2 separate regions of the Homo sapiens genome follow, and region 2 is linked to region 1. The links are contacts of gene promoters, found by promoter capture Hi-C in blood cells and fetal thymus (Javierre and others, 2016). All regions are on one chromosome and are shown on one strand. The core of a region is centred on a gene start or on the middle of the fragment in contact, and the rest is flanking DNA. Distances in the headings are between cores, read along the strand shown.

The links. The method cuts DNA at HindIII sites, captures the fragments that hold promoters and counts their contacts. A CHiCAGO score of 5 or more calls a contact.
Region 2: a fragment that was not itself captured here is called in contact with the fragment with the promoter of NEUROD2 in region 1 in 16 of 17 cell types (naive CD8 T cells, naive CD4 T cells, total CD8 T cells and 13 more); the score reaches 13.0 in naive CD8 T cells.

Annotation. Positions count from the first base shown.
Region 1 is chr17:39,606,016-39,609,629 of GRCh38, reverse strand. NEUROD2 (neuronal differentiation 2) reads left to right here and starts at 1,710. Exons shown (of 2, transcript NM_006160.4): 1 at 1,710-1,902; 2 at 3,026-3,614. The coding sequence starts at 3,031. The HindIII fragment of the contact is 7,147 bases long and covers 1-3,392 here.
Region 2 is chr17:39,747,872-39,751,485 of GRCh38, reverse strand. No RefSeq gene overlaps it. Among named protein-coding and RNA genes, the nearest start is that of GRB7, 12 kb to the right of the region's middle. The HindIII fragment of the contact is 398 bases long and covers 1,549-1,946 here.

The DNA of each region.
Region 1 (3,614 bases), core at 461-2,960:
ACCAGCACCCCTATCTCCAAGGCCTCCTGATGTGTGTCTCTATTTAGAACTTAATCCAACCTACCCAACATCAGATCAGTGTCTTACCAGCCCAAGGTCCCTGGGGAGCCTCCTAGAGGGAGAGAGCCCTGCCCACCCAGATTGAGGGTAAAGGCCTCCCCGTGCTCATTTTTGTACCACCACAGTGCTTGGCACATGGTAGACATCAAAATGTGTGTGCTGAAAGTATAATTGAAGTTGTGTATATATGTCAGCTAGAGTGTCTGGAGGGGCAGAAATGTGGGTCTAAAACATACAAATGCTCCAAATGGGGTGTGGGCAAGGGTCTGTCTACACCAGGCTGTGATTACCTGCTCACATACATGTGTCTATCTGAGTAGGGGTATGTTATCTATTTTTCTACACCACAGGGTGAGGAACAGGTATATGTGTGCATGTGTATGCATCCGTGTGTGTGTGTATGTGTGTGTGCATGAGTGTGTGTGTGTGTGTCCAAAGCCACCTCTTCAACCTGTGCCATTTGTATCTGTGTCTGGCCCAATGAGAGTGTTGAAAGGTGAGCCACAAGATAAAACAGCAACTTCCTACCTCCCTTATCAAGACAGCTGTCTGACCTACCTCCCCTTGGCCACTCTTGGGATTACTGGGGTTGGCTTCAGTATTTTCAGATTTTTCAGAAGGGGAGGAGAATGCTTGAGTCTCATCCAGGAACTTAGGCAGTTCTCAGCACTGCCTGCTCCTCCTCCCTCAAATAACCAAGTCTGAAGACCAGGAGAGAAAGCCGCTGGTGGACTGGTCACCTGTCTGGCAGTGGGAGGAGGAGAGTGAGAGGTTTCTAGGTTAGGAATCCAGACTTAGACCCTCCCCTCCACCCCCAGATGGGTGGTGCACAGGCTCATCTCGCGGCCCCTCCCCACTCCACCCTAACATGGATACGCCCCCAACAACCAAGGAAAGATCTCCCATCGGCTGACTCCACAGATACACACATGTCCCCACAGACACACACACGCCCATGCAGAGGCACAGACATCCAGGCACATCTTTCCCTTTCTCTGTCTTTCCCTTGGTTTGAATTTCGTTTAGCCACATATGTTGTGTGTGCGTGAGGGTGGGTGGGGGAGGGGCAGACAGGGATGAGGGATGGCATGGTGCCAACATCTACCTATGGGGCTCGGGCCAGGGACGCCCCTTACAGCCATCCTGGGAGGGGGTCTCAGCTGTCCCTTTGTGGCCAAGGGGACCCTCCTGGGGAGTGGGGGCAAGCACAGAGGTCCTTTCTCCCCAACCCGGGGTCTGGTCCCTGACCCACCTTGGGGGCCTGCAGGGGAGGAAATGGACAGAGCGGGACCCTGAGGGAGCATAGAATTGGCCACCACGAGCCCCCAGTGTCCAGCCTTGCCACCCCATTGTTCCCGTGAGGGGGTCTCTATATACAGGGGGCAACTCCTCCCACCTTCCTCTCAATCCCTGCTTTCCCTGCGTTGGGCGGGGAGGGGAGGGCGGCAGAAATATTTATTTATTTCCTTTATTTATTTAATTTTTTTTTTTTTTTTTGGAGTAGAGAGTGACAGATGGCGGCGGGTCCCGGGGGAGCCGGCTCTCCCCCAGTGCAGACGCATGCCAATCACCGTCTCTCATGTGATAGCTGCTGCCCGTGACGTGCCAAGCCCATATGGCCTGGCATAGAGGCTGGTACCCCGCCTGGTAGAGATGCCACACTCGCTCCGCGGTTCGCATGGCGCTCTGAAGACGCCGGCGCCCGCCGCCTTGAGGAGCCGCTGCCCCCGCTCCCTGAAGATGGGGGAACAATGAAATAAGCGAGAAGATCCCTCTTCTCCCCCCTCTCTCTCTTGCCCCCTCCCCCCCTCCCCTCCCCTCTCCCCTTGACTCCTCTCCGAGGTAAGTTGTCCGAAAGGGAGCGAGATCTGACCCGCCGGTTGGGAGGAGGGGCGGCAGCTTCGGCCGACAGGAGGGTCCTCAAATACCTCCTTCCTGGGATGATGCCCCCCTCATTGGGTGGGCATCGGAGGGGCCCCAGGTTCTCTCTCCCTTAGGGGCTGCAGCCCAGGGGGCTGCAGAGGAGGTGTCTCTGCCTGCGATGGGCTCGGTGGGGGGGGAAGGCAGGATCACGGAGGGGGATATGCGAAGAGGCCGAGACGGAGGACCCCTCCATGGTTGTCCCAAAAAGCCTGCCACCTTTCCCCACCACCGAAAAAAGGGAAGCAAACAAACAAATTTGGATTTTTCCCCCATCAATCCCAAAATACAACGAGATCTGAAGAGCCTTGTGGGAGGGAGTCAGCTTGAAGGGGGAAGGGGGTCCCTGACCGCAGAGGGGACGGACTGGGCTCGCTTCTCTCAGTCTCCTCCCCACGCCCCGCTGCTTCAGTCCTCGCCGCCCAGAGCCGGCTCCGGGAGCTGGGGACGCATCGGCTAGAGGAGACGATCCTCCCGCCTCTGGAATTGGGGGTGCGGGGGTGGGGGCCGAGCAAGGGGCGGCGCGCAGCCAAGTTGCAAATTGGATTAGGGAGCGTGGGGGTGAGAGCCACGGGAGGGGTGAGGGAGCTGGGCCGGGGGGCCCGGGCCGCGAGAGCGCGGAGCGGGGCAGCTGTCCCCACCGGCGGCCGACCAGCCTCTCTCCACCGCCAGGAGAGAACGGGCTTTCAGGGCGAGCGCGCCGCCTCCCCTGGCAAAGATATCTGGTCCCTAAAACCCCCACCCGGTCCCTGCCCTGACCCTGAGAAGAAGCAGGCGCGGGGAGCAGCCCCCCATTCAAGCGAGGGGCGGAGCCGGGGCCCAGCGCCGGGGAGAGGGCCTGGGCCGAGATCCCAGGCCGGCAGCCGGGTAGGGCTGGGCCGGCTCTGGGCGGGGCAGGCGGCGGAGGTGGGCATCCAGGGTAGCCTAGGCAGGAGCCCGCACGAGACTCGGGGGTGGAGGAGGGTTGTGGGGGGGCGTCGGTACCCCAGCGCGCCCCTCACTTTGTGCTGTCTGTCTCCCCTTCCCGCCCGCGGGGCGCCCTCAGGCACCATGCTGACCCGCCTGTTCAGCGAGCCCGGCCTTCTCTCGGACGTGCCCAAGTTCGCCAGCTGGGGCGACGGCGAAGACGACGAGCCGAGGAGCGACAAGGGCGACGCGCCGCCACCGCCACCGCCTGCGCCCGGGCCAGGGGCTCCGGGGCCAGCCCGGGCGGCCAAGCCAGTCCCTCTCCGTGGAGAAGAGGGGACGGAGGCCACGTTGGCCGAGGTCAAGGAGGAAGGCGAGCTGGGGGGAGAGGAGGAGGAGGAAGAGGAGGAGGAAGAAGGACTGGACGAGGCGGAGGGCGAGCGGCCCAAGAAGCGCGGGCCCAAGAAGCGCAAGATGACCAAGGCGCGCTTGGAGCGCTCCAAGCTTCGGCGGCAGAAGGCGAACGCGCGGGAGCGCAACCGCATGCACGACCTGAACGCAGCCCTGGACAACCTGCGCAAGGTGGTGCCCTGCTACTCCAAGACGCAGAAGCTGTCCAAGATCGAGACGCTGCGCCTAGCCAAGAACTATATCTGGGCGCTCTCGGAGATCCTGCGCTCCGGCAAGCGGCCAGACCTAGTGTCCTACGTGCAGACTCTGTGCAAGGG
Region 2 (3,614 bases), core at 498-2,997, 140 kb before region 1:
GTCCCAGCCCCCACCCTCTCCCCCAGAGAAGCCCCTGCTTCCCCTCCCACCAGCCCAGATTTTCTCAGAACCACAAGCCTCCCCGATCTAGCACTGCAGCCGTCCTTGGCAGTCCTTTCTGCTGTCTGACCACTGTAGGTCATGCTGCAGTCTCTGAGGTAGAGCAGCATCCTTCCCACATCCTCAGAGCTGGGGGATCTTACCCAGGGGTTCCACTGTGAGCTGGCCCTGAGAGGGTCCCTGTGCCCCCAAACTCTTAGCAGCTACGTCTCCAAAAAGCCAGAAATCTCAGACACTCACCAAGAATGGGCTGCTGCTGGTCTCAGGTGGCCAGATCAGGGCCAAATGCTGCCCCCTCTAAGGGCTCTCGGCAGCCTAGGTCCCTCACTGTGGCCAGCACTGAGAAGGGAGGGGGCAGAGAACAAAGGCTAGAGCAGGGCAGGGCTGCATTTCACCACCTGTCCAGTGGGCTGAGTCTGGCCTCTGTCCCGAACTCCCTCTGCGACCCCTGTCGCAGGTGAGTCCCTGTCTTTCCCTGAGCCTCAGTTTCCCATTTGTAAAGTGGGAAGGACATCTGTCTCACAGTCTCCAATTAGCTGATTGACAGAGAGGCTTTGTCTCTGCCCAGTGCCTCAGGCTGTGAAGGGACACTGGGTCCTCTTTTTTTACAGTCTGAACCCCTGGACATGCTGAAGAGGTGACTCATCTTGACCCCTTTACTCTCACTCCAGCCTGGAACTCTGGCACCCACACCTCGGAGGTGGCCCTGGGCACCCATGGCCAGCCACACAGCTGACACTGCCCTGTTCGGTGCTCGAGCCACAGCCTGTGGTGGGGATGGCTCTGGGAACCGTGGCAGGTGGCAGGCAGCAGGTTGCACTGGGTCCTGCCTCCAGTCCTGCTAAAAAGAAGCAAAATCTGCCACCCTTCCTGCCCTTGGGCTGCAGTAAGTTCTTCCAGCAGATTCCCAGGAGGTCCCAGGCTGGGGTGTGCATGAGACCTCTCTGCCCACCTCTGTCTGCTGGACCTGGTCCCAGCTTCCCAGCCTGGAGTTAGCCAAGGATGGGGGTGCCTTGGTCGGGAGTGGCTGCCAGGGCTGCCAGACCCAGCCCAGGGGCTGATTGCAGAGGCTGCACAGTCTCAAGGTCACCTCAGGACAACCCTCCAGGCCAGAGACCAAGGCTGCAGGGAAGGGAGGGGCTCTCTAAGGGAGGACCCCAGTAGGCCACTATTGCTGTCACTGTGGCTGAGGAATGCCACCTGGACGTCAGCCAGACAGGGGAAGCAGAACATGCCCAGACCTGGTCCTCAGACCTGGGTTGGAATCTTGGCTCTCCCACTGTGATCTGGGGCCAGGCTGCCCACTGGGCCGTCAGTTTCCTCACCTACAAAACAGCGTCTCACCACCTCCTGCCCAGTCAGTCCCAAAGATTTGAGAAGGGGCTCTCCATTAAAATATATCAATATATAATAGAATATCCAAGCATATACAAAGGTGGAGAGGATAATTTAACAAATCCCCACATAGCCAGTACCTGTCACCAAGCTTCAACCAATATCAACAGCCAGTGTCAACTCATGGCCACACCATGACTATGCCCACACCCTCTCCTTTAACCTCTGGATTTCATTTTTTTCTTTTTATTTTTTGAGACAAGGTCATGTTCTGTGGCCCAGGCTGGAGTGCAGAGATGCAATCATGGCTCACACCAGCCTTGACTTCCTGGGCTCAAACGATCCTTTCACCCCAGCCTCCCAGGTAGCTGGGACCACAGATGCATGTCACCACACCTGGCTAATTTTTTATTTTTTATTTTTGTAGAGAGGGCCTCACTATGTTGCCCAGGCTGGTCTCAAACTCCTCCCACCTCAGCTCCCAAAGTACTGGGATTACAGGCATGACCCACTGTGCCTGGCCACCTCTGGGTTATTTTAAAAACAAAGCTTCAGCATTACTCAATATACCCAGGTAATAAACCTGCACATGTACTCCCTGAATCTAAAATAAAAGTTGGAAAAAAAAAAAAGAAAAGGAATAAAAACAAAGCTGAGACATCATGTGATTTCACCTTTAAATACTTCATAATGAATTTCTTAAAGATAAAGATTTAGAAAAAACCGTAACTGCAATACCATTATTACACCTTAGAAAGTTAGCCATAATCCCTTAATATCATCGAATATCTGATCAGAATTCAAATTTCCCCCAATTGCTCATAAATGCTTTTTACAGTTAGTTTGCATTTGAATCAAAGGTCAACACATCATTTGGTTGATATATGTCTAAATTTCTTGAAATCTAGAGATTGCCCATCTTTTCTGGTAATTTTGTTGCTGTTGAAGAAGAAACTGGGTTATCTGTTCTGTAGAATTTCCCAATCTGGATTTTTGTCATTGTTTCCCTTGTATTTCCCGTAAACTAGTTGTTGAATCCAAGGAATCAGATTCAGGTTTGGTGTTTTGACAAAAACAATGACTAGTTGGGGTTCACAGGTCTGCAGGAGGGTCTGTCTCCTGAGTTAAGCAGCAAGTTCAGATGCAGTCGATCTGACATATTTATTAAAGAGCTCCCATCAGGTAAGAGCTCAAACTAAAAAACTCTTAGACAAGGCCAGGCGCAGTGGCTTGGGTGTGTAATCCCAGCACTTTGGGAGGCCAAGGTGAGTGGATCACTTGAGGTCAGGAGTTCAAGGCCAGGCTGGCCAACATGGTGAAACCCCGTCTCTACCACAAATACAAAAAATTAGCCAGGCGTGGTGGCAAGCGCCTGTAATCCCAGTTACTTGGGAGGATGAGGCAAGAGAATCGCTTGAACCCAGGAGAAGGAGGTTGTAGTGAGCTGAGATCGTGCCACTGCATTCCAGCTTGCGCAACAGAGTGAGACTCCATCTCAAAAAACAAAACAAAAAAACCTCTAAGACAAAAACATAGACTGGCATGAGCAGTGGGCAGAGGCCAGACATCTGTCTTTTTTTTTAAGACTGAGTCTTGCTCTTGTTGCCCAGGCTGGAGTGCAATGGCATGATCTTGGCTCACTGCAACCTCTGCCTCCCCGGTTCAAGCTATTCTCCTGCCTCAGCCTCCCTAGTAGCTGGGATTACAGGTGCCCGCCACCATGCCCAGCTAATTTTTGTATTTTTAGTAGAGATGGGGTTTTGCCATGTTGGCCAGGCTGGTCTCAAACTCCTGACCTCGTGATCCGCCCGCCTCGGCCTCCCAAAGTGCTGGGATTACAGGTGTGAGCCACAGTGCCCTGCCGGGAGTGGTGAATTTATATTTGAGAAAAGATCACTCTGGGTGCTGAAGGATGTGTTGGAGATGGAAGCCAGATGCAGAGGGCTGAATGCTAGCAGGCTCCATTTATATGGCTTTCTGGAAGGGGCAGAACTAGGACAGAAAGGAGGTTTCAGTTTGGGTAGGAGGGAGCATGGCTGATAGTAGGGGGCACAGGGACTTGTTGGGGGTGATGAGGCCATTCTGTGTCTTGGTGGTGGGGCTGGATGCATAACTGTGTGCATGCTGGGGCCAACTATCCGTCAGCTAGTCCAGGACTAGCGGAGGACAAGCATGCTGTCGGACTCATCTCCAACTCCCAGGCCCTGTTAATTACCTCT